Regions from separate parts of the Homo sapiens genome. Here all the other regions are linked to region 7. The links are contacts of gene promoters, found by promoter capture Hi-C in blood cells and fetal thymus (Javierre and others, 2016). All regions are on one chromosome and are shown on one strand. Each heading gives the region's core, a stretch centred on a gene start or on the middle of the fragment in contact. The rest is flanking DNA. Distances are from core to core; before and after follow the strand shown.

The links. The method cuts DNA at HindIII sites, captures the fragments that hold promoters and counts their contacts. A CHiCAGO score of 5 or more calls a contact.
Region 1: a fragment that was not itself captured here is called in contact with the fragment with the promoter of LINC02332 in region 7 in 2 of 17 cell types (activated CD4 T cells and naive CD4 T cells); the score reaches 5.2 in activated CD4 T cells.
Region 2: a fragment that was not itself captured here is called in contact with the fragment with the promoter of LINC02332 in region 7 in 4 of 17 cell types (total B cells, M1 macrophages, neutrophils and 1 more); the score reaches 7.3 in total B cells.
Region 3: a contact is called between a fragment that was not itself captured here and the fragment with the promoter of LINC02332 in region 7, in 1 of 17 cell types (naive CD4 T cells). The highest score is 5.3, in naive CD4 T cells.
Region 4: a fragment that was not itself captured here is called in contact with the fragment with the promoter of LINC02332 in region 7 in 5 of 17 cell types (M1 macrophages, M0 macrophages, total B cells and 2 more); the score reaches 8.6 in M1 macrophages.
Region 5: a fragment that was not itself captured here is called in contact with the fragment with the promoter of LINC02332 in region 7 in 2 of 17 cell types (naive CD4 T cells and total CD4 T cells); the score reaches 7.2 in naive CD4 T cells.
Region 6: a fragment that was not itself captured here is called in contact with the fragment with the promoter of LINC02332 in region 7 in 4 of 17 cell types (total B cells, naive B cells, monocytes and 1 more); the score reaches 11.0 in total B cells.

The regions. Positions count from the first base shown.
Region 1 is chr14:22,148,377-22,152,368 of GRCh38, forward strand. It overlaps TRA and TRAV27. Among named protein-coding and RNA genes, the nearest start is that of TRD-AS1, 330 kb to the right of the region's middle. The HindIII fragment of the contact is 5,782 bases long and covers 1-3,992 here.
Region 2 is chr14:22,956,694-22,960,916 of GRCh38, forward strand. It overlaps HAUS4 (HAUS augmin like complex subunit 4), which reads right to left and starts at 397. Exons shown (of 10, transcript NM_001166269.2): 1 at 223-397. MIR4707 (microRNA 4707) reads right to left here and starts at 336; the gene lies at 257-336. RefSeq lists enhancers at 89-218, 601-1,180, 1,181-1,759 and a silencer at 1,559-1,919. The HindIII fragment of the contact is 187 bases long and covers 2,709-2,895 here.
Region 3 is chr14:22,095,669-22,099,816 of GRCh38, forward strand. It overlaps TRA and TRDV1. Among named protein-coding and RNA genes, the nearest start is that of TRD-AS1, 390 kb to the right of the region's middle. The HindIII fragment of the contact is 2,359 bases long and covers 1,374-3,732 here.
Region 4 is chr14:22,976,392-22,980,112 of GRCh38, forward strand. AJUBA (ajuba LIM protein) reads right to left here. Exons shown (of 8, transcript NM_032876.6): 2 at 1,953-2,054; 3 at 254-321; 4 at 65-127. It overlaps LOC124903287 (a long non-coding RNA gene), which reads left to right and starts at 1,436. Exons shown (of 2, transcript XR_007064076.1): 1 at 1,436-1,710; 2 at 2,259-2,830. RefSeq lists an enhancer at 1,309-1,603. The HindIII fragment of the contact is 1,204 bases long and covers 907-2,110 here.
Region 5 is chr14:22,165,344-22,169,082 of GRCh38, forward strand. LOC124903284 (a long non-coding RNA gene) reads right to left here. Exons shown (of 2, transcript XR_007064069.1): 2 at 1,507-3,515. It also overlaps TRA and TRAV30. Among named protein-coding and RNA genes, the nearest start is that of TRD-AS1, 320 kb to the right of the region's middle. The HindIII fragment of the contact is 7,199 bases long and covers 1-3,739 here.
Region 6 is chr14:22,996,416-23,000,107 of GRCh38, forward strand. C14orf93 (chromosome 14 open reading frame 93) reads right to left here. Exons shown (of 7, transcript NM_021944.4): 2 at 2,012-2,987. The coding sequence starts at 2,608. AJUBA-DT (AJUBA divergent transcript) reads left to right here. Exons shown (of 3, transcript XR_007064074.1): 3 at 759-2,015. Among named protein-coding and RNA genes, the nearest start is that of C14orf93, 12 kb to the right of the region's middle. The HindIII fragment of the contact is 5,209 bases long and covers 1-3,692 here.
Region 7 is chr14:22,555,354-22,559,273 of GRCh38, forward strand. It overlaps LINC02332 (long intergenic non-protein coding RNA 2332), which reads right to left and starts at 1,709. Exons shown (of 3, transcript NR_146543.1): 1 at 1,598-1,709; 2 at 1,439-1,500; 3 at 958-1,169. LOC105370399 (a long non-coding RNA gene) reads left to right here and starts at 1,213. Exons shown (of 2, transcript XR_007064066.1): 1 at 1,213-2,213; 2 at 3,374-3,920. RefSeq lists enhancers at 45-174, 755-854, 905-1,244, 2,105-2,314 and a silencer at 1,355-1,404. The HindIII fragment of the contact is 9,123 bases long and covers 1-3,920 here.

The DNA.
Region 1 (3,992 bases), core at 852-3,351, 410 kb before region 7:
GAGCCCTCAGTTTCTAAGCATCCAAGAGGGAGAAAATCTCACTGTGTACTGCAACTCCTCAAGTGTTTTTTCCAGCTTACAATGGTACAGACAGGAGCCTGGGGAAGGTCCTGTCCTCCTGGTGACAGTAGTTACGGGTGGAGAAGTGAAGAAGCTGAAGAGACTAACCTTTCAGTTTGGTGATGCAAGAAAGGACAGTTCTCTCCACATCACTGCAGCCCAGACTGGTGATACAGGCCTCTACCTCTGTGCAGGAGCACAGTGCTCTTGAGGCACCTGCTGCCTGCACCCAAACCCTGCTGCCAGCCCCAGTCACGAGGCTGCCACATGCCTCCAGCTCCGCCTCGCACAGCTTATGGCATGAATAGAGAGAACAACCTCAGCCCCTCATGGAACCATTTCTGCTGCCTTTCCAGAAAACATTTTCCACACACACTGGAGGACAAGACCCCTCTGCTATAACACAAATATCTGGAAATGCAGCCTGCTATTAGGATCATTAACGATATGGGCCTGCAACTCCCCGGGGTAGGCAGTAGCAAAGAGAGTCGATATAGAGGGACAAATGGAAGCTATCAGACAGACTGTTTCTGAGTGTTCCACCCCTGTGTAGAAACAAAGCAGAAGGCACCAGGGAAGGGAGCTAGGGATTCTTTCCCAACCTGAAATGAGTTTTTCTCCCTCCTTCCACCTTTCTCACCCCCTCATTCTCTCTTTCTTCCTTCTTTCATTAATTCTTCCTTTCATAGTTGGCATCAGGGATTTTCCATCTCTTTAGGATTTTCTGTTAATTTAAATGGGAACGCCTTCAGCTCTCATGCTAATTGAATCCAAAGGATCAACATGGAGAATTTCAGAATACTTCATGGTTCAGATTGGTCATTCCGTTTTCCAGAAGACCACACCCAGGAATGTTCAGTACAATGGGGCAGAAATGGATGGTTTCCCAGCTTTCTTGTAGTACTCCAGAGATGATGAAGCTGCTATCTTTCCAGACTCTTACACTGCAGTAAAATGCAGAAGTATTGTAAAAATTAGAAGAAAGTTACTACCTTTTTGGAAGAAAGATACCGATAGTACACCTCAGTAGCATCCAACTGTGGTTTCAAAGCAACATCCTAGTTGGTGGTTCTGAAAGTGACCAAACATTAACTACAATGGCCTGTATGTTCACAGGACTGGCTTGGGGAAGAGTCTTTGAATGGCAAATGTCAATAACTTCAAGTTTTCAAGCCTGAAGAAGAAAGAAGTTGGCAGTTTCCTCCACATAGCAAGCCCTCCACTGGCCCATTTTCATACTTGAAGCAGTTGTATTTGTTCTGTAAGGCAAGATGATATAGCAAAATGCACATGAGTTTCTGAGTTTTGAAATCAAAATAACTTAAATTAAAATCTCGTTTTTGCAATTTTCTAGCTCTGTGTCCCTGGGCAATTATTTATCCTCACCTACATTTCCTTATAAATTAATGTTAGTAAGAACACCTATCTTGCTGAGTTGCTATGAATTAAATGAGATAAAATACATAAAATTGTCTCAAGTTCCAGGCATAACATGTATACTCAACAAATGTCCTTAAAATAATATTGTTATTGATGGCCGTATGTAAATGTCACCCCTACTGTGGAATTTTCACTGACTACTTAAGGGGGAATGAGTTATTCTCTGCCTAATACTCTGAGTCCTCACCAGAGGAGTCAGGAAGGCAGACACTGCAAGCTGCCAACCTAATCACAATTCTTTTCTGCCTCCTTATTAACAATACCCTCAATTTTGATTTGGGCAACAATATGTCCAGCTTTAAAAAAGCTCAACACTACATTTTACCCTCTCTTGCAGCAAGAGATTGCCATATACATATAGAACAGTTCTGACCAGTGAGATAGGACCAGAAGTTGGATAGGGCCTTCCCATAATGTTTTTTTCTCTCCTGATACAAGTACACATCTCTCTATCCCTCCTTTTCTCTTTTTAAAACATGGAAGAGATAACTTTACCGTAAAGGAAAACACATAACTAATCCCCTTTCCTTATCCCATGCCTGGTAGTCTTTTAGATGCCAAGTCAAATCCAGCCCCCAGATTTAATTTTGCATGAAAATTTTTAATAAACCATTATTTGGTTGAGTTTTCTGTTGCTGCAGCTAAACATAATTCTAACTATAGTAAGATTGACATAAAATGGCTTTATGATTTCTTGTTTCCATGTGTAAAGGCAGGAAAAGATATATAAACAAATTACTTTGTTTATACAAACATGGGGACTCCATTTATGTTGATCATATCTGTTTCATAAAGTATTAATATTCCTATATTTTTTATAAAGGAAAAAAACTTCACCTTTCATTTAGAGAGGACTCGTTATTAAATTTCCATAGCAATTTCTTATACTCATGGAAGATTATGGAATCCAGATTTCATCCTAAAGTCTTTTAACCACAGACAATTTCCATGCAAATAATAACTATAGTCTTACATTTGTCTTAACTTTATATTCCAAAGGTTATTTTTCTTATTTTCTTAACCTTACTCTACCCAGTAATCCATTTTAAAAGCCTCCTCTAAAAACTTTATCACATTAAACTCCTTCATTCTGAAAATTTTAAAGGCAAATACAAATAAAAATAAGAAAACAATTTTAATTATCTCTGATGCAAAAAGAGAAAGACACTCTCCCCTCCCTTTCGTTAGAGCACCTACTTTAGAAAACTTGTAATTGTGAGTTTTCTATCCCTTTGAAATGTAGGTAAATCTTTTTAAAAGCTAAATAAATCCCTTGCCAGTTTTACAATCCAGGACTGTCTTTCTCAAGAACCTGAGAGCATTTTTTTCAAAATGTAATCACGAAGGGAGGTAGTGCCCTAATCTAGTTTTAGTGGAGAATAGGTGCCTAACTTCAGCTGGTACTTTGCTCCCAGTTGCAAACCAACCTCCTGTCATAAAGATATGAGAAATGTTTCCTTTGCATGAAGGCAATTACGAAACAGGTGGCTACCTCAATTACCAGGTAAATTGAGGATGAACTATGTTTGAAAAATGATGCTGTCAAGTCCTCTTTCTTGCGGACTAGTTATTGTTTATCTTGAGAAACTGTAAACAATCAGTTGCATCTGCTCGGCTATATAAAAGGATAAGATTTCTTTATTTCCTTGTAGTATCTTTAGTGGATTGCCTGTGAGATGCATCACATTCTGGTTTAATGCTTATTCAATAAAACTGTTTTTTTTTTTTTTTTTTTGAGACAGAGTCTCACTCTGTCACCCAGACTGGAATGCAGTGGCATAATCAGGGCTCATTACAACCTGTGCCTCCCAGGCTCAAGCAATCCTCCTGTTTCAGCTTCCCAAGTAGCTGGGACCACAGGTGCATGCCATCATGCTCAGCTAATTTTTTTGTATTTTTATATAGATGGGGCTTCACCATGTTGCCCAGGCTGGTCTCTAACTCCTGAGCTCAACCTATCTGTCTGCCTTGGCCCCCCAAAGTCCTGGGATTACAGACGTGAGCCACTACACCTGGCCAAAACTGTTTTCTTTCTCTTCTACCTTTGTGGGAAGGTGTTATGGGTTGATAGGAGATTCTGTTTTACTTCCTCAACAAAATGGCCCAGGGTCTTTCCCTAATCACTGGGCTTACATGTCTCTTCCTGAAAAGCACCATGACACTATGAAAAGAGCAAGGGTTTCTAAAGGCTCTGTCCCTTATTGGCTGTGTAAATTTGGGAATATTATATTAACTTCATGAGCATCAATTTCCTGATAAGTACTGCAGAAGTAAGAATAAATACTTAATTTACAGTATTATTGTGAAGATTAGCAATGTTTTGGTAACTGCCTAGCATAATGGACTTACAAATTAAAAAATTGAAAGTGGGAACCACGGCTTCCACAAGGTACACTCAAAACCTCATTTGTGTCCTGATATATGTTTTGAGCCAGGAATATGTGTAAGAGTTAAAGAAAGAGGAAAGAAACACAAAACACAGCTTGGCAGTT
Region 2 (4,223 bases), core at 1,552-4,051, 400 kb after region 7:
ACTGAACGTTAAATTGATTTTACAGGTTATTTTCACAAGATATGACCCTTACAGGGCCCGAGATGAATCAAAATGCAGAACGGGCTCTCCGGCGCCTACTTCCCTTCTGTCTGGGCGGCCAAGGATTCCCAAGAGCGACGACGGTCTCCGGCCACTGGCCGGAATGACTCTCCCAGAGCTCCTCTTCCCCGAAGCTCCGCCCGCCGACCCTCTAAAGCAAACCTGCACACCCTGGGGCAGCTGAAGCTCTCAAGGCGGTGCCGAGAACCTCGGCTGGGGCGGGCTGGCCAGCAGCGTCTACACCCCAGAACCCGCCCGCGCCGGGGCTCCGGAACCTCTCGTTCGGGCCGGGCGCAGGGGCTGGGGGAAGCGAGGCCCGGAAAGACCAAGCTGAAAGGCCCGGGAAGGGGAAGGAGCCGAAAGTGCACTAGAGGCCGCGACGAAGGAGGTGGAGGCGGGGCCACACTCGAGGCGGGAACGGCAGGCCCCGCCCCTCGACGGGTGCGCGCTGGGTTCCCAACGCCCTGGGTTCGCATGCTCGGGTGGTGGAACCCGGACTGGGAAACAGGATGGTCTCGGAAAGGCTTTTTTGCCCCTTCTCATTAGTGCCTCCCCAGTGAAGGGCAGATGCTGAGAAAATGGTGGTAATTGCTAACATTTATTGAGGGCCTACGATGAGTCAGGCACTACGCCAAGCATTTTGCTTGCCTTGCCTCGTTTTTTTTTTGAGACGGAGTCTCGCTCTGTCGCCCAGGCTGGGGTGCAGTGGCGCAATATCGGCTCGCTGCAAGCTCCGCCTCCCGGGTTCAAGCAATTCTCTGCCTCAGCCTCACGAGTAGCTGGGATTACAGGTGCCCGCCACCACGCCCGGCTAATTGTTGTATTTTTAGTAGAGACGGGGTTTCACCGTGTTAGCCAGGATGATCTGGATCTCCTGACCTCGTGATCCACCCGCCTCGGCCTCCCAAAGTGCTGGGATTACAGGCGTGAGCTACCGCCCTCGGCCAGGCCTCGTTTAGTTCTTAAAGCGTCCTGTGAGAAAGTCACCATTATACTCATTTTACAGAGGGGGAGAACTGAGGCACAAAGGGTTAAGTTCGAGGTCGCCATTTGGGGGGTCTAAACCTGTCCCAATAGCTCTCGGAAGGAACCTTCCCAGACCTGCCACCCAAGCCGCGTCCTGCGAGTCTCCTCACTAAGGCCTGGCTCTGAGGCGCTGCCGCCCAGCCCAGCCCAGCCCAGCCCAGCCCATGCCGGGCACCATACAGTGCTTCCTCAGGGTCACCTTCCTCTCGAATTCCCACCACAGACTCCCTATTAGCGCGCATTCCTCATTCGCCTGTTTTGTTTGTTTGTTTGTTTGTTTTCTTGGGGGTACGGAGTTTCGCACTTGTTGCCCAGGCTGGAGCGCAGTGGCACGATCTCGGCTCACCGCAACCTCCACCTCCCAGGTTCAAGCGATTCTCCTGCCCTAGCCTCCTGAGTAGCTGGGATTACCCGCACGAGCCACCACGCCTGGCTAATTTTTATATTTTTAGTAGAGACAGAGTTTCACAATATTGGCCAGGATGGTCTCGCACTCCTGACCTCAAGCAATCTGCCCGGCCAAATATCTTTCACCTGTCTTAATCTTTTTTTTTTTTTTTTTCCAGACGGAGTCTTGCTCTGTTGCCAGGCTGGAGTGCAGTGGCGCGATCTCTGCAACCTTCACCTCCCGGGTTCAAGCGATTCTCCTGCCTCAGCCTCCTGAGTAGCTGGGACTACAGGCGGGCGCCACCACGCCCAGGTAATTTTTTTTGTATTTTTAGTAGAGACGGGGTTTCACCACGTTGGCCAGGATGGTCTCAGTCTCCTGACCTCGTGATCCGCCCGCCTCGGCCTCCCAAAGTGCTGGGATTACAGGCATGAGCCACCGCGCCCGGCCCACCTGTCTTAACCTTAAACCCAACCCTCACTCCCACCCACACCTTCGGTGAATTATTTCAAAAATATAAATTTAAAAAAATAAAGAGCTGGGCATGGTGGCTCACGCCTGTAATCCCAGCACTTTGGGAGGCTGAGGCGGGCGGATCACGTGAAGTCAGGAGTTTGAGACCAGGCTGGCCAACCTGGTGAGACCCCCGTCTCTACTAAAAATACAAAAAATTAGCTCCAGAGGCTGAGGCAGGAGAATCGCTTGAACCCAGGAGGCGGAGGTTGCAGTGACCTGAGATCGTGCCACTGCACTCCAGCCTGGGCAACAGAGTGAGACTCGGTCTCGAAAAAAATTAAAAATAAATAAAAATTAAAAATAAAGAAAATGTTTAGGCGGGGTGCAGTGGCTCATGCCTGACCCAGCACTTTGGGAGGCCGAGGCAGGAGGATCACTTGAGCCCAGGAGTTCGAGACCAGCCTGGGCCACATGGCGAGACGATCCCCATCTCTACAAAAAAAAAATACAAAAAGAAAATATGCAATACTAAGTAAACTGTGCCAAGTATATCACATCTTTTACATTAGATAAGGTGATAGCCTGGAGTGATAGGAAAGGAATCTCCGTTAGGTGTGCTGAGAGATGGGGAGTTTCGCCTTTTCCTTCAGTACCAGCTACAGAATTCTATTAATATGCATAGAGGAATGGTGTGGTCCAGTGAAGAAATTTTATATTCTTGGTCAGCTCATCAGCTGCCACCTTTCATGCTTAATATTGAACTGCTGTCATTTTCTGAAGCTTTTAAAAATCATTTATGCTTCCTCAGCTCTGAAGCACAGCAAAGTTAAATATCAGGCATAATGTCCATAGCAAACGGCACTTGGAACAAAATAGCAAGTATGCTTTGGTGACTCAGAGCTGATCGGAAATCTACTGAAATTTTGTCTCTCAGATTTGTCAAGTTCTCTAATATGGTACTACGAAGCTTTGGCTAAAGTACTTTGGGGAATGAGGGGGTGAAGGATGGAGCAAGCTGTCTTCAGGTAGGAGGACAGAGGGGATAGTGATGCAAAGAAGCCTTGAATTGGATCAGACCTTCATGTGCAATTATCTGTTCCATCTCTGTCTCTACAAGTTGTGTGACCTTGGGCTTCAGGGTCCTTATCTGTCAAAAGGAGGAAATAACTTATTTCTAGCTCCTCCAATCTCATAGTGTCGATGTAATGATCAAATGAGATAATGGCTGAGAAAGTGCATTGGAAAGACTAAAAGTGAGGTGTTTTAAATTGACACTTATTATGCACCTATTAAGTGCCTTGGGAGAGACACAAAGCTAAATATGGCCCAGTCCTTGCCCCAAAGATGTTCATAATCTAAAAGATAAGACGTATGCACATGAAAAGCAAATAATACAAGGCAGCAAACTGGTGTCAAAAGAGCAGTTTAGATTATAAATACTAGAGAAACATGAAGAAGGTACAGAATTCTTTCTGCAGAAATAGATAGGATAGAATAGATGAAATAAATCTTACTTTCATTGGGCCTGAAAGGATAGAGAAAATTTGGATCATTTAGAATGAAGGAAACATCCCAGCAAATGGAAGCAGAGACAAGGGGAGTATAAACTGCATTCTAGGTCCAAGAGGAGACAGGACCAACCGAAGTGAAGGATTTTATAGGCCAGCTCTACGTAAGACTGGAAAGTTAAGCCTATAGTCCATCCTGGCAGTTAAAAATGCAGCAAAGGCCGGGTGCGGTGGCTCAAGCCTGTAATCCCAGCACTTTGGGAGGCCGAGGCAGGCAGATCACGAGGTCAGGAAATCAAGACCATCTTGGCTAACACGGTGAAACCCCGTCTCTACTAAAAATACAAAAAATCAGCTGGGCGTGGTGGCGGGTGCCTGTAATCCCAGCTACTCAGGAGGCTAAGCCAGGAGAATGGCGTCAACCCAGGAGGCGGAGCTTGCAGTGAGCGGAGATTGCACCACTGCACTCCAGCCTGGGCGACAGAGAGAGACTCCATCTCAAAAAAAAAAAAAAAAAAAAAAAGAGTGCAGTGAAGTGCTGGGAAAAAAAGTTTATAATCAGACACCATCCGGTGTCCTTGAACAAGAAAGAATTGTAAGAAAGGACCTAGAATTCATTCATATTCTCTCTCTCTCTCTCCCTCTGTCCTTCTCTTTCCCTCTTTTTTGCCAGAATTTTAAAAAACAGCTTCATTGAGGTATTTTGGCACACAGTATTTAAAGTGTACAATTCAATACATTTTGATATAACTATATATGTGTGAAACCATCACCAAGATCAAGAT
Region 3 (4,148 bases), core at 1,303-3,802, 460 kb before region 7:
AGTATTTTTCTTTTAAATTTAATTAGTTTCTGATGGCAAAAAGTAAATATATGCTAAATGAATAATATCAATGTATGTCAACTGGTTCAACTGCAGTTCCCCTCAATACAAATTGCTTTTCTTATATCCCTTTTCTAGGTTCTGTCTATCCTAATGACTAGGGAAAGACAACTAGACAAAGTAAAGATTCAGGGGTGAGCCAGACATTTTTCCTCATCTGTGCATAGCCATGTAGTCTATGAACATGAGACTCAATTTCCTGTTTGGGGAGATAGCATCAGAACCCAGGAACTACATATACACACCGCAGGGCCCTGGTAGGCACTGAACTTTGAGCTTCAGGCAGCACAACTCACATTTGTGCAAAGAGCTACATGCCACATGCTGTTCTCCAGCCTGCTGTGTGTATTTGTGGCCTTCAGCTACTCTGGTATGGATGGTTCCAAGTGTGAGTAAAAATGTTAAGGATGGAAGGATTCCAAACAGGCATATGGTATTTCTCATGGACTTGAGGAGGAAAGGAGAAATTGTAAAAAAGCGAGCATATTATGATTTTAGTTTGGTTTGTCTCTGGGTCCTAAATTAGTCTAGCTCTTACGATATTTTATTCACTATATCAAAGGATCAGCTCTGTTTTCTGATTTTTCCCACAGGATCAAGTGTGGCCCAGAAGGTTACTCAAGCCCAGTCATCAGTATCCATGCCAGTGAGGAAAGCAGTCACCCTGAACTGCCTGTATGAAACAAGTTGGTGGTCATATTATATTTTTTGGTACAAGCAACTTCCCAGCAAAGAGATGATTTTCCTTATTCGCCAGGGTTCTGATGAACAGAATGCAAAAAGTGGTCGCTATTCTGTCAACTTCAAGAAAGCAGCGAAATCCGTCGCCTTAACCATTTCAGCCTTACAGCTAGAAGATTCAGCAAAGTACTTTTGTGCTCTTGGGGAACTCACAGTGTTTGAAGTGATAGTAAAAGCAAAACAAAAACCCTAGGGCTCAATAAGAGAACCCCTCTACTCCCCATCCTTTGCTACAGGAGCCAATCTGAAATGCACACCTGCAGATCTCAGGCAAGAGAGGGTAGTGACTGTGGTCTGTGGATTTAATCTGTGGTCTGGATCAGATGATTTAATTCCAAGTAAAACCTCCTTCTATCTCACTTGGAAACAGGTGTTCAGAGCAACTTTCTTCTAATACTTCAATTTTTACTTAAAATAGATCATACAGAAAATGTGTAAAGTTGTCTAAAGTTGGAAAGACTTCCACATAATAACTTAAAGTGGCAGTCTCACTTAACGATGCTCACAGCAGAAATCTGGGTCTAGTTATCTTGAATCACCATAAAAATCATTTCCTTAGCCCTTTCCTCTTAAGCTTTATGTCAGTTAGGATACAATCAGGGAAGCAGAACCATCGTGAAAGATGTAGAATAAGATTAATTATAAGGATTAGACCTCATGCAATTGCTGGAACGGGTGGCTCTCGGAAGTTACTTAGTTGTTTATGTTTTTATGAAATTGTAACAGGAATAAAATGTAATCTTTTCAAAATCTGACACTGAGTTTTATGTACTAGGCTGAAGAGGATCAGGACATTCAGTCCTATTGGCTTCACAAGTAGAATAGTACTTCTTAGATCATGTGTCCTAGAATTCTCCTGATACCACATTTCTATCCCATTAATCCAAACTATTCAGTCTCACTTGTTAAATTCTGTGGCTGGGCATGTTTTTCATGTGTAAAATAAAGTCGTGATAAGCATGCCAGATTTCTGTGATACGATGCCATAATCTGCTCTTACTCCTATGCAAAGCTGTTTGCTGAATTTACTCTAGGTCAGCTAGACTCACATTTGGGAAGGAGAGTTGAACATGGACAAGAGCATGCAAAAGCTGTGATTTGTAAAGACATTTTGGAACCCATGGTGACAGGTGGAACCCACGAGGACAAACTAAAACTTGTCTGTCTCTTACCTCCTTCAATCTCATAGTGTTGGTGACCTTCAGAAGAAATGGTGTTATTTGCTATCATGCTCCCTGGGTACTTGGCCCAAGAAAAAGAGAAGCTGAAAGAGGAGATCTGGGGGGAGTGGGGGAGTTGTGAATCAACAATAAGATGAGTTAGCAGATCAGAGCAACATATGTGAGTTGCCACAGTGCCTGGAGCCTGGCACCTGCCTTACACAATTTTTTTCAACTTAATCGAGAACAATATAGGGAAGGATTTTCTTAGAAATATATTTCCAGGTAGTTACGACGAGACAGTACAAAGTTACCACAATACCCCCACCTTGTAAACTTGACATCCATATGCACCTCTTTTAATAGCACTTAGCTTTCAAATAAAGGCAATTTTAAAAAGCATACTTCCTGCCAATATGATGCCACTGTTCTTCATTCAACCACACATACCCTAACCCTCTCCCCTAAAGAGAATACAAAGTATTTATTCATCTTTGGGTGATGTTCTTTCCTCTTCTAGCTGAGTCACACTCTCCCATTGATATCCTGTAGTTTAGCTTCTGAGATATAACAAGCTATAAGAGTAACTTATTAACATATCTTTCACTATTATGTATAGGCAAATGGGAGGAGAGTAAAAAATGGTTGACATGTATTTTAATATTTTCATATCACAATGAAAAAGAAATGTTTATAACAGTATAGTCTTTTTTTCCACAAATGGTCACATGATTGTAGCTGGTTTCTATAACTACCTCTTCCATTACCCATTTCATAATCTGTTTTCAGCAAGCACCTCAACTCACTGGTACACTTGACTTTCTATAAAACAAGCTCCTTGGTCAGGAGCAATGTTATACAGAATGCCATAAAGTTGAGTAAGGAATTCTCTAAGCCCACCACTGTGGTTTTGCCAGAAGCACTGCAGATGTGGAAGGAAAGTCCATATTCAGAATGTCTAAGTGGACTAAAACAAAGCAAAACTTGCCAGCAGCCAGAGAAAGTTGATATATCATGATATATCATGATATATCATGTCTTTAAGAATGATTGCTGAATTCTCATCAAAATCAACAGAAGCCAAAGAGGAAAAAGTATTTTTAGAGTACTTACAAAACAAACAAACAAACAAACAAACAAAAAAACTCTCTAGCTAGCTTCCTATGAACATGAAAGTCTAATTTTAAACCCTTTGTCAAAAATCATTGTTAAAAAGGTGGAAAGTCAGTGCACAGATTGGGAAATTATATTTGCATTGGTGTATTTCTGAAAAAGATTCAAATGCAGAATATATAAAAAACTTGTACAAGTCAACAAGCAATGAGAAAACAATACAAATGGCCAAAACTTGAAGAGACACTTCAGAAATATGATATCTAATAGTAATAAGCATACACAAAAAGCACTTAATATAATTACTCATTAGGAAAATGAAAATGAAACCCCATTGAGTGATCCCCCTGTGCCCTTTCAGCACCCCAGTTGTATTAATGTAGCCAGGAGGAAATGACCACAAGAGGATAATGAAAAATAGTGACTACTTCCAGGGGAAGGGATGGCCAAGTAGGTTTTCTAGAAACTTCTGTTAAATTAAGTTTAGCCTAAAGCTGCCTCCTTATTTATTTAAAACTCAGGGCAAAGGTTTCTCCATACATAGGGCCCTGTAACCTAACAGGATGCATAAACAGGCTACAGTCTGCTCTCTACCAATCCCTAAGTTTCGGCCATAGGTGGCCAACTGTTCAAACATGTTCAAATAAGGCAAATGCCAAGCTTTAACCAATCCATCTGTTTCTGTACCTTACTTCCTTTTTCTATAAGTCACTTTACTTTCTCTGTCCATAAATATTCTTTGACCATGTGGCAGTGACAGAGTCTCTCTGAACCTGTTCTGGTCTGGTGGGGGGCTGCCTGAATCTCTAATCGTTCTTTGCTTAATTAAACTCTGTAAAATTTAATTCGTCTAAAGTTTTTCTTTTAACATGTCCATCATTGAACCATGTTCAGTGGAAGAAGAAAAAGCAGTAACAGGCTAAAGACCGGAACACTGAAGGAAAGCAGGTTTTACTAGGAAAAAAGAAAGTTGGTATTCATTGGCCATACTATATGTCAGGCACTATTTATACATTTCAAATTCATTACCTAATTTAAGCATCATACACCCTACGAGATAGGTTTTAGTCTTCC
Region 4 (3,721 bases), core at 259-2,758, 420 kb after region 7:
TTAGTCCCTGATCCCGCTCCTCAGCCTCACAGTGAGACTTCTCAGCTGAAAGCACTTTACTTACCTTCTCCAAAATCAAGTGACCACAGACACAGCATTTCTCAGCTGCCTCCTGAAACCCTGAAAACTAAAGTAAAAGACAAGACGAACGGAGGCTGTTATCAAACTGAGAATGATGGGTGGTACTCCAATGGGCCACCAAGAAGGGGGTCAGTATGGAAACCAATTCCAGGTCCAGGTGACCCTTACTCACCAGATAATCTTCCTCACAGTACACAGAGCCATTGACACTGTAGAAAGCCTTGCAACGCAAAGTTCGCCCTAGAAACAATAGAGAAGGGGCTGGAACCTATCCCACAGCCCAGGTGCAAGACTTCTGGGGTCACTGCTCCCCGCTGCTGCATAATATATTTAAACCTGGACTTTGTGCTTTTCCTCCTAACTGCTGTCTGTCCTTCCCCGCACAAAAATTCCATCTGATGCAATTCCAATTTGCTTTGGCTTCATTCCAGCCAACTTCCCCTCTCCTCTGCTTGCTGCTCCTCCAGCTCCTGCCTCCTTAACAGTTTTCTAGGGCCCCTCCCCTAAACAAACTGCCTTCCTCTCCAGTGCATAGGAAGCCACCTGGGAGAGTAAAGCCAACTACGTGCTGGAATACGTGAGCTCTTAATAAGGTGCTATATGATTTGCATAGAGAGAACCACATTGTTAACAGGCCTTTCCCTCTGGGACCCTTCAACCTAGAAGCCTCTTTGCCTGAGCATATCTATCCTGCTCTCAAATGCCTGTCTCCTTCCAGGGACAGACTCCATGGAGGTCAGGACTGGAGTTACTGCAGAAGGACAAAGTGCTTTGTTTGGAAGCAAAGCAGGTCCCCTCTCCTGTTTGTATAAGGCTGCTTCCCTAAGCTTAGAGGGACCCAGAGTCACTGGGGTAAGAGACAACCCAGGATCTTCTTCCAGCAGACAAGGCAGGACAATTCCCCATGTGACCAACCCCCAGGAACTGCTCCCAGGTGTCTACATTATCAGGGATAGGGAAGGAGTGAGAACAGGTGGAGCATGAGCAATTTTCCCACCTTTGCCTTCTTCCCCTCAAAATCCCTACTTCCAACTCTGTCCAGTGGGTTAGGAAAGCTGACTTAGAAGCTCATGAGACACAGGGGAGGAAAGATAGGGAAAGAGATATAGCCAGAAGAGGCCCTGTAAACAGAAGGATAGACAGACAGATGAGCCTAAAGAGAACCAGGCAGAAACTGGGGGAGTGAGAAAAGCTGAGTGCTGAAGTCAGACAGGCAGAGATAGGAGATTAAAGGTTTAGCAAAGGAATCAGAATGGGTAAGCAGTAAGGAGGGGGTAATGAGGGAGGGGAGGGGGGCAGTTAAGGCCGCTGGGAGCATCCCCCCTTTCCAAGTGGGCCTCCTGAGCTAACAGTGGCAGGCATTCCTGGAGCGTGATGTCATCAGCTTGGCATGGCCCGGTGGCCTGCACTCCAGTGAGGTGGCTGAACTCTGACCAGCCAAGAGAAAACCCCCCTCTCCGCCCCAAACAGCTCCCCACTCCCCCAGCCTGCCCCCACCCTCCCCACATTCCAGTCTTTCACTGTCGCCCCAGGCAACTTGGCTGCCCAAGACCAAGCCCCACCAAGAAGCTGGAGGGCCAGGCAAGTCCAGGATGGGCAAGCAGGGAAGCACGAGAGGGAGAAACAGAGGTGAGGAAGGAAGGAGGGACTCCAGAAAGGGGACCCACCAGGCGGAGGGAGAGCCAAGTAGAGGACAGACAGGGAAGCAAGAGAGGCAGAGCAGCTGCGGACCTCCAGACACTTGGTGGGGATCCAACAGCTGCTCTGTGAGCAAATGAAGAGGCACAAGCTCTCCTCCTGTTCCCCATAGCACTTGTAAGTGTGTATGTGGGCAGGGGAGGGGAGTGCTTGAGTATTGGGGCTACACTCACCACAAGAGCAGCAAACAAAGCACTGGGTGTGGTAGAGGCTGTCCAGGGCCTGGCAGGCATTGCTCTGCCCATAGATGCCTTTGTTGCACTTGATACAGGTGCCTGAGAAGAGAAAAGTGTCACACTCTACTCCCCCAGGTCAAAACCAGGGATTCCCAAGCTTTCCTGACTGCCCTTTCCTGATGTGCCAGGGGTCACAGTCTCCCTTTGATGGGCTCCCTTCTGAGTAGAGAAGATAACGAGTAATGAGATGCAGCAAGATCTTGGCTGAGCAGATCCATTCTTGTTTATTTAATTACTCAACAGATATTTTCTGAGCATCTGTTTTGTGCTTAACACAGCACCACTACCTAAGGAAACCTGGAGAAAGTCGAAGATATGGTCCCTGGCATTCAGATGCTTAGTTTCTGTTGGGGAGAAAAGACTACACAGGCAAGGTATGATCTCTGTTGCAGTGTGTAGGATGAACGGTCAAAGATGCCAGTCCACAGGTGCTCAGCAGCAGACTTGAAAATACTTTCTAGAGAAAGCAGGCTAGGCCCAGAAATCGTCTCTGGGACTTCAGTTTCCCATCAGTCAAACGAGCTGTTCAGTTATAGAATGATTTCTCTCCACTGCAGACTTCCAAGGATGGAGAAAAGGATCTGGCTTGGCAGAGGGCTCCGTGCAGAGGGGACCATGTGAGCATGATTCCTGTGGGGAGGTGGCTGCTGAGAATGCAGGGTGTGTTCCAGGAACCAGGGTTGAACAGGAAAGCAGGGAGAGTAGCAGAGCCCCTGATGCCTCCTAGTCACCTTCTATCATGGGAAGAATACAGAACTGAACTGCTTGCTATTCCCCAAAATCCCCCACTAAGATATATACACCTGGCTCTGGGACTTGCCTTTCCTGGGTGTGTTCTTCCCTCCCTCCACTCCCCAATTCCAGGCCCATGAGTGAGGGCTAGGGCCTGTCTTTGGGGAGCAGATCCCAACGGGCCTGCCCCACCTCTCCCCCTCGGCACGCTGCCACACTCCCTGCCTGTTGGGGCCCATCCCAGTCTTTGCCCAGGGGCTTGGGAGCCTGTGCAGCAGCTGCAGCAACTGATGGGCCCAGGCCTGTCCTGCTCCCACCCTCTGGCAGCTGGGCAAGGCTGAAGCCAAGGAAGAGGGCCCCTACTAGGGGCAGGAGGAGGGTACAGTCAAGCTGGGGCTAGCGGCACAAGGGGTATGTAGGGGTTCTGTCAAAGGAGGCAACCTGACTCCCAAGGAGAAGGGGCCCCCATCTCTGAATTCAAAATGTGGCTTCCTCATGGAAGTGAAGATCTGCCCCAAGATTGCCATGCCAGGGGGTCCTGTCGGAGCCATTCTTTAGGAAACCTTGGACGTTATGGGAAAAGCAAACGAAACTGCTCAGGCACGTTGGCCTCACCTCCTCTAACCCAGCATATCTATACCTATGTTCTTCCTGCCATTTTATTGCAGTTTCTCTGAGTTCCTTTCTTCCTTTTGGCTCTGATGGTTCAGCCAAAAAGACTTCTTTACTAGCCACCTCTCCTGGGCCTCAAAATGAAACTGCTAAATGGGCCCTGTCATTCAGTCTTCCTTGATCAAAGCGGTTTGGCATCATCTCCTCTGGGCTTTCCTCTCGGTGGATTTGGAGGTGGGGAAAAGAATGGGGGTGGAGGCTGGGGGTTGAGTTATGCCCTTATAGCCTGCCGCCCTGCTACCTCTGAACCTCCTACCCAACCATCCCTCCCTGGCCGCGTTCCTCTTCCTATTCACTTTTCT
Region 5 (3,739 bases), core at 218-2,717, 390 kb before region 7:
AGAAAAGAGAGTTCATGGTCACTCATGCCCCAAACCACCAAGTATGGGCCCTTCCTACAGAAGCTATTAACAAGTCATGCTTTTGAACAGCTAGCAATCTTTAAAATTCTTATCATACATGTCTTCATCATTGACCTATAGAAGAGTGAGATTATCACTCATAGAGAATTAAAAGCTGAAATTATGGTTTTATATGTATATTGTATTTGTAGATAAATGATTAGAGCTTGTTCCTCACAGGCTGATTTTCTGAAGCTGAAGATCTTTACAGAGAGAAGATACAGAAATTCAGGATACTTCCCAAGAAGCATGCGGAAGCCTCTGTAAATCCCATTACTTATGGCATAATCTGAACAGTGACTTCAGGAACAGTGATTTCAGGAATGCTGAAGACATTTTTTATCAGAATAGGGGTGATATATAGGTTGGCTTAGCTTTGTTCATCTAGGGATCCTTGTGGGGTTGGTTTAACTATAAGGTAAAATCTGTAGGTTGATCAATTCTCTCATATTTAATTCTATATTCCTGAACATGGATGTAAAGCTAACTCAGTGTGAATTAGATTTATTATCCCTCCATATCCAGGAGCACCAATATCACATGCAGTATTTTTTCTGTTCTTTTTATGGCTTACATTGGTATAGGCAGGAAAAATTCCAAGATCCTTTTCGTAATGCACGTAAATGAGAATGAAAAGCAGGAAGGAATATTAAGCATCACTCTTCATACTTAGGGTATTCCATGCACATCTCGGGCTCCTACTCTAGAGCCTCAGCTACTCTGAGCAGAGAGTCTGCTGTGCATACTCTTTGCTCACAGGCATCCAGAGCCTGTTCCCAAATTCAAAGCTGTAGCCACAGATCCCAGCAAAAGGGCAGACACGCGAGAGTTGTTGCTGTCTTCTAGCAGGGTGTAGAGAAATGTAGCTACGATGAATCATTTCATTTCAGTTTCAAAAAATGTGGAAATTCAGCTGAATAATCAGTCCAGTTACTATATATCCCTGCTCTTAACAAAACTATTTCAAATACCTTAAGACAATAAATCAGCTTTTCTTCTTTTCAGATATATTTAACATGATTTATAAATTACTGAAACCCATTATAAAGTTCTGTTACAATGGACATTTTTCACTCTAACTGCTGTTACATTTACCCCATTTCATGTCTTGCATAATGGGGAGGGAATATATTAATGCTGTCTTTATCCTTCTAAAGCAACGTAGAATCATACCAGAAAAAGGAATACTACATTCAATCTCATCCCTGTCTTTTTGTTCAAGCTCTTCAGACTGCTTCAACTTTCACATTTCATTCATTCCCACAGTTATCTATTTACGTTCTTTTCTTATCTAATATATTTGGGAAACAGCATTGGGAAAACATACTTTCTAGCATTGTTCTAGCCATAAGTGTGTTGTGTCTTCTTGAGCAAGTGAATCAACTTCTTAACATTTTATATCAGGACCTTCATCTGTAATGCAAGGGCAATGATTTCCAGCTAACATCGGTCTCAAGTTTTATTCATTTTATCAATTAGCAATTGTTAACTGGTTGCCTGCTGAGTTCTGCATAAATGTTACATGCTGGGAAAAAAAGAGCTATGGAAAAATACATATCTTCTTTGACTAAATTGTAGTCTAGTTAGTTATGTAGGCAGCTAATCAGACAGAGTAAAGTGAAATGAGGCCAACCTTGGGAAAGCAAAGGGAGGTATGAAGGCATATGGAAAGTCCCACCCCCATCTTAGCCTTAGAGGTGAGTCAGGGGCAGCCTGTAGTATGTCTTGCCTATGCTGAGACCTAAAGATTTAGTAGGAGTCAATCAAGTTGAAAGACAGAGAAGGTAGTAAAAGTGATCTTAAAGATAGAAACAGCATGTACAAGGTGACACAGAACACAATGAACCTGAGGACTAAAAGCCAGAATTATGCTATAATTAAAATTATGTATGTCATAAAATGTTCAAACCACCACTGCAAAGCAGTTGTACCTTAATTCTCAGTTTTATAAATGAGTAACCATAATATTTGTGAGGTTACCAAATATGTTTTCTATTTACTTGAGATTTCACTTAATAAGGTTATTCATTTGATACCTAATATGTGTCTTAGACTTGAAAACAATAGATGCAAATGAGAAGAATAAGGCATTGTTTCTGCCTTCAGGGAGCATGTAATATTGCAGAGTGTATTACAATATAGTATAATAAAAGCTATCATAGGAGAAGCGTAGAATATAACCACCTAACAGTGGCATTTAATTTGGAAACTTAAATGTAAGGGAAAGCTGCCTACGGGAAGTAGTATCTAGGTTAAGATCTGTAAAACAGTTAGCCAAAAATGGAGTCAGAGACAGGGTATTACAGAAAAAGATAAATAGAATGTACAAAGACATGAAGTCAATATTTAGGTTAAGAGAATGACATTAAACTAATTCAGGATGGCCAGAGCATACAACTCAAAATGTATGTCAGTAAATATAAAACTAAAGCAATAAGCAGAAACCACTTTGTGAAAATAATTAAAAGCCATTATAAGATGTTTGTACATTACATTATCTTGAAGACAATGATGAGCAGTGAAAGAAATCTGCACAAGTAAATAATATAATGAAATGTCACTGTTTGAAAGATTACTATGAGTTCACATACTTATATATTATATCCATGTGTGGGCATGTATATAAAATATATATATGTAGTAAAATACATATAATACATTTTCCCTTGATACTTCTTTTTTCTCTTAATTCTGGAGTAATTCTTTCTGTAACACAGTATATTGATAGGCCCTTCTTATAGCAAGAAAAAAACCTATCCTGTATGAAAACTTACTCAAGAAAAGCCAAAATCCACAGTTTAATCAACATTCCTCAGTCTGGCCACAGGGGAGAGCTGTTTAAAAAGTATTCTAGGTAGATGCATTTAGTTCTCTGCAGTTAAACTGTTGTGATGTGTCTCTGATTGGTTGCCCCCAAAGTTGCAATATCCTGGAAGCAATTGCAACAGGCCTCATTCTGAGTTCAAAGCAACTCCTGTTAAGGAAGCCCATTCAGAAGCTGACTGGATATTCTGGCAGGCCAAGGATGGAGACTCTCCTGAAAGTGCTTTCAGGCACCTTGTTGTGGCAGTTGACCTGTGAGTACACGATTCAGTCTGGGAGAGGTTGTGATATGACAGCATCTTAATGACAATAGCTTTCTGTCTTGGGAAGGGCCCTTTTAAGAACCAGACCTAAGAAGTGAGGAAAATGTACCGTAATTATGTGGTGATGCTTAATGTTTTAAATAAGGAAGGAAGAGAGAAAATCACCCTTCCCTTCACGAGATTGAGCATCTCATTCGATTGTCTTTCTGATCAGGGGTGAGAAGCCAACAACCAGTGCAGAGTCCTCAAGCCGTGATCCTCCGAGAAGGGGAAGATGCTGTCATCAACTGCAGTTCCTCCAAGGCTTTATATTCTGTACACTGGTACAGGCAGAAGCATGGTGAAGCACCCGTCTTCCTGATGATATTACTGAAGGGTGGAGAACAGAAGGGTCATGACAAAATATCTGCTTCATTTAATGAAAAAAAGCAGCAAAGCTCCCTGTACCTTACGGCCTCCCAGCTCAGTTACTCAGGAACCTACTTCTGCGGCACAGAGACACAGTGATACCCAGGCCTCCAAGACCTGTACTCAAACCTAAAGCTGAGCCGCAGATGCTCCCCTAGCATAGATGCCCACCACAGGAGTATGGG
Region 6 (3,692 bases), core at 699-3,198, 440 kb after region 7:
GGGACTCCTATGAGTGTTGGGCAAATATTTCTTGTGTGTACAGGGCCTCTCATGTTGGGTTGTTACCATAGGGCTGCTCACAAGGAGAAAGCATGTTTCTGACACTGTTGGTGAATAGTCATTTATGGATAGCTCTTGGATATAAGAAATGGAGCTAGATAAGTGTTTTGTCTGAAAGGACTGGGTGAAGAAGTGATGACAAGAAAGAAACCAAGCAAGAGAAGGAGTAAGAAAATAAAACAGTAACAGCAATAAAGAGGAGACATAAAAGACAAATGAGCAAAGGAGGAAGACATAAAGTCAGAAATCCCTAGAGAGACTGGCAGCAACAGCTCCCCTCACCTATCCTCCATTCCCAGAGTCAGTCCATGCCCTCACCTTGATCCTGCCCCGGCCACATTCGACTGTCATAGCCCCTGACATCTACCTGACTGCCTGTGCCCTCACTCAAGGACATACAGAGCCGGGAAAGGAAGAAGGGAGCAAGGGAGAGAGGGAGGAAGAAAGGAGGGGGGATTTCTGCAGTCAAGAAAACAAAATACTGAAAGTGGGGACACACACGCACACGCACACACACACACACACACACACACACAGAAAGATGCGGGGGAGGAGGCTGAGATTTATAGACCTGTGAGCTGCTTTCTGCGCTGTGAAATCTAATTCCATCCTGTCGGCTTGGAAGCCTTTCCTGCCTCAAAGAACCCACAGCTCAGGGCAATGCCTAGCCTGGTACCTTTCTGCCTCCCACCTTCCAGGTCCTCCCTTGAGCTGGAACCACGGAGAGTCCTGACCAGCCACAGACTGGGGTGAGCAGCAGTGGCCATTACCCATATGGCTGTGCCTTCAGGAGAGCAATGACCAGTTGCTGTGTTACACTGGAGGGGGAGAGAGGGGTTTATGTATTCATTTCTCAGATCCAGCAGATGGGCTGGGAGTTTCATCCCTCCCATCTACTCCATGTGTTCTGCTCCTTTACTCTTTACTGGGTGTCTATGTCTTGTTGTGGGGGGAGGAGAAAAAGAGAGGACAGACGGAGAATAAGGTGGAGAGCTGACAGAACTCCAACCGTCTCTCAAGTGGCACCACATCTGTTATTTTCCTATCTCTAAGATCTCTATAGTTGCTCCATCTCCTTTTCATACTTCCATGTGTGACATTCTGCAGTTCTTACTCTACTCAGCCAGGATTTTCCTGCTCATATGGCCCTTAAGCAGTAAAGAAACTGAAATAGCACAATGTACATCTATGTCTTTTCCTGCTCACAAAATATGCTTGCTTGCTTCCTTCTTTTCTTCCCTCTTTCTCCCTATATGTTATTCTCTTACTGTTAACAATCAGTTGGCCATTTCTTTTTCTCATTTCCCATTTTATTTCCTTTCCTCTACCTCCCCCTCGCCTTACCTCATAGTCTCTCTCCCGTGGTGTAGATTCTCTTTCCACATAGATTCACCTTTCTTCTGTGCTCCCTTTTTTCACTTTTTCTCCTCCCTCAGCCCTTCATTTCTACTTGTCTCTTTCCCTCCCTATACTTGTCTTCTATTATCTTTATCTTTGTCCTCTCACTTTTTCCTCCTCTCTCCACCTCTGCCTCTCTCCCCTGTACATTCCCATCTCTCTTTGTACTGAATTCCTCTTGGCAAGCAGAGGGCCTGCGATAAAATATGAATGAGCCGTCTGTGCACGGCAGGCATCCTCGCCAGGAGAGGCAGAGTCCATGGAGCAGCCGAGACAGCTGTGGAAGAGAAGGTGCCATGCGGAGCTACTGAGAGAGAGGGAAGGGCACCCCATCACTACACACAGCAAAAAATGACCTTCTGCCAAAGAAGCTGATGGTTCAGGAAGAAAATAGAGCTGACTATCCCTGAAGGAAAAGGAAACGTGGTACTGTTTTGCTTTATCACAAATACAAACAAAAGGTTTAAAGATGGAAAGAAAAGAACAGAAAGGAAAAAGAGTGAAAAGCCAGGAAAAGCACCTAGGAGGAATAGCCCTCTGCTGCCATACTCACAGGATTGAGCAGGGGGGCCGCCTCGCTGGCAGCCAGCGTGCACCCTGGGAGCCGCATGTCCCTCTGAGTTGCTGGGAAGCCCAAAGGCCCAGGCCCCACTGAGGCTGCTCCCAGCTGCCGCAGCTCCTCAATCACCACCTGCACGCCGCTGCCCACGCTGTCACACTCCTCTTCCACGGCAGACAGAGCCTTAAAGGCTTCCCCGGGACTTTCCTTGAGAGGCCCAGGCTCCTCAGGTGGGGAACTATGTGCCCGGCTTTCCCCATCTTCATCAGGGATGGACACTTTCCCTTGCCTCAGGTCACCCACTTCCTCCTGGAGACGTTTTAACAACTCATTGTTGGCCCTGGCAAGACCCAGAGCAGCTTCAGCCAAACCCACTGCCTTATCGACCCGCTGGTAGATAACATGCAGGAGCTGCTCTGAGCTCTGAACAGCCAAGCCATGTCCAGTCACTGTGATGGGGGTGCTGGGAGGAGGATTCCCACCCTGGGAGCCTGTGTTGCCTCCATTAGTCTCACTCTTACAGGCGCAGCAGCAGCATCTGGCCTCGCTGCCACTGGGAGGGGAGAAGAGAATGGTGGCACTGAAGGACATGGCGGATGGGGCAGTAACAACCACGCTTACACTGCTGGGCCGCTCCAACAGGTAGGAAGCATCAACTTCTCTGGACTCACTTTCCTTTCTCAATGAGGATGGTCAGAGGAGCCCAGGCCCCAAGCTGTAGGGTCTGTGAAAGAAGAGTAAACAAGCCATGAAGAAGCACACAGTCCATGGCGGCCTCTCCTCGGCCTGCAGAAGGGAGACAGGTGCCTTCTATTTGCAGATCCTGTGCTCTCCTAGCACATCACAAATCAAGGCCTTCCTGATGAACGGTTTCAGACGGTAGAGAGCATTCCTTCTGCCCCCCAGCATGGAACCCCCGACTAGTGCAACCTAAGGAACAGGGAAGGGATTCAGAAGGACCTTCCGGCATCTGGAAAGATTAGAAGATTAAGGAAGAAAATGTAGATCTGTCTCCTCCTCCTCCTCACCATCTTTACTGTAATAATGGTACTGCATTTCATTGCTTTGACATTGTTCCTTAAGGTGTTCAGAACACTTCACATAAGTTACCTCATCTACTCAACAGCACTAGGAAACATATTACTCCAGGTCCAGAGAAGAGACATGTGGAGAAGTTATATGTCTTTTTCAAGGTCAGAGGAATAACAGCAGAATCCAGTTATTGCTACTTTCAATGTAGTGTTGTATTTTTTTTTAACTGATACCACTTTTTGTTGACATTAACAATCATGACAATCATGATTCTACCCTCTCTGTAATTTTCATACAAATGCATTCAGAGTAACACTCCTAAATAAGGAATACATCCATCACTGCAGCCCTCAGCATGTCACCAACTTCTCACTGTTATATTATATCATTAATGCTTTGGGGATGAGGGCAGGGAAATGAAATGAAAAGATCAGGGAATTGAGCTGGGGTAACCCAGGGCTGCACAGCCCCCTTTCCCACATAGTCGTGTACCTGGGCCATGAGCCTCTGTAATGGAAACTAGCTGTCCTGAATCTTCCAGCCAGGAGCCCAGAGAAATCACCCGTGGGGCCCCTTATCTTCATTTCTCAAGCTCCTTAAGGGTGGATCCAAAATTCAACAGGAATGTTTGAACAGCTATGCT
Region 7 (3,920 bases), core at 459-2,958:
GACTTGACCTCTGAGTGCAACTGGAGTCACAGCCACTCAGGAGAAAGGGCAGGCTATGCAAGCACGTGCTTCAGGAGCATCCTGGTGAGGTCTTCAGCTCTGACAGAGCAACCCCTCTGCTGCTACCCTCACTGGGGGCAGCCATCTGAGTCTTAAGGAGTTGCTTATTTTTTAGGTCCAAACATAAAATTCAACTCCCCTGGGATCACGTATACAGACAGGCCTATAGCACCTTATTATCAGGTACCATCCTAGTGTGGAAGTCCCCTGGCCTGTGTGCTCTGTGGGATGGGAATGTCCCTTGTCATCAATGTGTCCCCAGGAACTAGAACAGTGCCTGGCACACAACAGATGCCGTTAAATGAATAAGTGAATGACTCCTGCAGTTAGGCTCTGGGTGGGGGGAGCTGAGTGTGAGGAGTGGGGAGTACAGGAGAAAGGAAAGTGGGGATTAGTAGAGGAAGTGGTCAGGTGAGTCAATGCTTCACAGTTTTGCCAAGAGCTAAAGTAACTTGTCAAGAACTTCAGAACAAGGAAAGCCTGAGTGGTGGCCCCTTGCTCAGGGCAGCCCCCAGGCAGGCACACATCTATCCAACAAAGCCTGGAGGACAGGGACTGTGGTAAATCACGCAGGGTACCTGGGAGTCTGACCTCACTGTGTGACCACACTGAGGTCCAGAGCCAACAGTCACTTTATGTGGGTTCGCCTCAGTTTCTCCATGAGTCCTACTCTAAAACCCATCTACCTCCGTGAGCCATGTGTGGGAAGACGAGCTTCTGACTGGGATGAGTCTGGGGGAGCAAGCACATGGAGACCCAGTGCTGTCATTCTGGCTGCCGGAAGGCTGCAGGACCACCAGCGCCCTGCGTCTGTGTCAAGGCCACCTGGGCAACGCGGCGAGGGGTGGGGAGTGCAGGCCTCCTTTCACACAGAGACACACAGGCCTGAGGCCTCTCTGGGTAGCACACATAGAGCTATATTTTGCAATTAATAAACAGGTCAGACATTGAGTCAGTAGCCACAAGTAGAACAGGAAGTGGAAAAAGTCTCCCACTTCCCTCCAGGTGTTTGGGGGCTGGGGCGGTCCCCTCCCATTTCCATGACGTCATGGTTACCAAGAGGGGCAAGTAGGGCACCCTTTGAAGCTCTCCCGCAGAAGCCACATCCTCTGGAAAGAAGAGTTTAAAATACTGAGTTAGAGATAGCATCGCCCCAGGCCACGTGCCGAGGGGAGCAGGCTGGGCCGTTACACCACCCCCCAACCGCAGGTGCAGCAAGGCCAACATGCCAGGCTGGGAGGGGCTGCCGGCCCCTCGGTGACTTGCACCGGGCCCGCAAGCAGGCTGGGGAGGTGCTGCTGGCCCCACCGCTGAGCCGCCTCCCTCACCGCACCTCTGCTGCCCCTCCAAACCAGCCAAGATCAGACCTTGATCTCACCTGATTAAGCGCTTGCTTAGTACAGGGCAGACCCTCGAGACTTATGCTCAGGCCAGTGTCTCCTGGGAGGGAAGGAGGTGGGGAGGCCGTATTTGCCCCCACACAGAGCTAGGGCTGATTCTCTGAGGGACCCCCCCCCAATAGCACCTCCCCCCTTACCCTGATGCTTGTCCATTAGGTGATGGCCCTAATGGACGCCTTGATGGACACGTCCGGGACCCAGGGACCCGGAGACCAGGAATCTGCTGGTCTCAGGGAGCCGCAGAACCTGAAACCCAAAAATACCAGGCTTGATCGCCTGCTCTTCGGTAGTGTCGCCATCCACCCGCATGGGGGCAGCAGCGCTCCACCAAAAAGACCTCTTCTCCCTTTGTCTGTTAATTCTGGAGATAGAAAGCCCCCAAAGTTTAGGAAAAGCTCTTTTCCGAGGAAAATAAAAGGGCAGGTGACTTTTATCCCACAAGTCCCTGCCCTGTGCCCGTCACTGCGCTGGGCGCAAGGCCTGTGTCATCCTGTCACATCCCCCCCCAAAGGAGAGGAGGGCCTGGGGCCTGGGCCGGCAGCAGGGGGCGCTGTTCGTCCGGGATCGTCAGACCCGCTCCACCCGGAGCCCTGGAGGAAGTGCCCAGGGAGGGCTGGGGGCCCGGAGGAGGCCTTGGGTTCGGAATTAGGCTGGCTGGAGTCCGGGATCCACCACATCATACACTCGTGCCTTTGGCAGGTCACTAACCGCCCACCGCCTCAGTTTCCCGGTGGGACGAACTCTCTCTCACAGGTAGTTTAAGAACCAGGCTTTCTTTGGCATTGTATACCTGCCATGTGCCAGGCTGTGTCGTGCTCTGGGGATTCAGTCTCTGTGCAAACTATGACTCCATACAGATGAAGTCCAAGAACAGGCAAAACGCATCACAGGTGATAGAAATTAGGGCACTGTTTGCCTCTGGGGTAGAAGGATGGATTGAAAAGGGGCACGAGGAAACCTTCAGGGGTGGTGGAAATGTTCCATATCTTTATCTTGGGTGATGGCTATATATATATCAAATGCATCATTAGTGTATTTTCATGTAATTATGCCTCAAGAAAGTACTGCTCCCATTAAATACACACACACACACACACACACACACACACAGAGTTTCTGTCTTCAAGGAGTTAACAGTCCAGTGAGTAGTGGGTATGAAAGAGATGTGTTAATGGCTGCAATTGCAAGACAGAGGCTTTTGTTACTATATTCTCCTCAGGCAGGAGTCCTCAGGCAGGAGGCAGGAGAACCAGTTGTTTGTCCCTAAGCGTCACTGCCCCTCACTAGCCTTCTCTCCTGGGGCCTTTAATTTTTCTGAGTCCCCATGTGTTATTATTCACATAGAGATAAAAATACCTGCCCACCTATTCTCAGTGTTGTTGAAGGGATTGAAAGCAGTAATGGGTGTGGAATGCTTAGTAAACTGAAATCCCAGTGCAAATATGAAGTGGGAATGCATCAGAATGCCCAGGAAGACGAACCATGACCCGAACAAGATGGGCTGGGCCAGGTCAGATGGCACTGCCATACTGAGAAAAAAGTGGGCTGGCTGCGGCTTCACACAGCCCGGGAGAGCTCAGAACTCCCCAGGCCCTGCCGGTGCGCTGGTGTTTCTCATAGTATGTGGCCACCTCTCCAGTCACTTCGGCCCTAGGAGCTTCTTGTTACACCATGATTTTGTCACTACCTCCGCAGCTTCCCACCTCCTGCTTCCGGCTTCCAGAAGGAAGCGCGTGATGGAGGGGAAATGACAGGGCCAGGAGGCAGCGGTCAGGCTGGGCCGAGTTTCTGACAGAAGCCAACACTTCTGGCCCCACAGTGCTCACGGCCTCCCTGACTCCTCACCACATCACAGCTGAAAAGGCTCACGTCTTATCTCCCCTCTCAACCTCTGGGGGCTTCTCTGCTTTCAGAAGGAGCCCCTGGAGCCCCTGGCCGAACACATCTGAAAGCACGGAGCCAGACCTCTGCAGCGCCCTCCAGCGGGCAGGTTCTGCGGGCAGCCATCTCCTCGCAGGCCAGAACACCCCACGTCACTCCAGGACGGTTCGCCACCTTTGAGAAGAGAGGACTCCAGTGTCTGTTCGCTCTGGAAATGTGGGCATGTTCCCATTCCAAAGGTGATAGGATCTGAGGGGAGGATCCTTCCCATTTTCAAAGCCTTCCTAAAATCCCACTGATTAGTGGGGAGGAGTGCAAGTCTACCCTTTCCCCGAACCACCCACATGAAATTTAGCAACAACAACAACAAAAAAGGAAAATATTAGAGGAAGATCATATAAGTGTAAGAAGACAAGGCTGGCAGGACCTAAGAGAGTCTAGGTAGATGAAGGAATATGGTTTACATAATGGGGAGCACCTGGTCTCCATTTCATGCTTCCAGCCTTGATGGGAGGAAAGTAGGTAAACCTTAAAAGGGACTTCTTTCCAGTGGAGGCTGCAAGATTCTATTTTTACCAA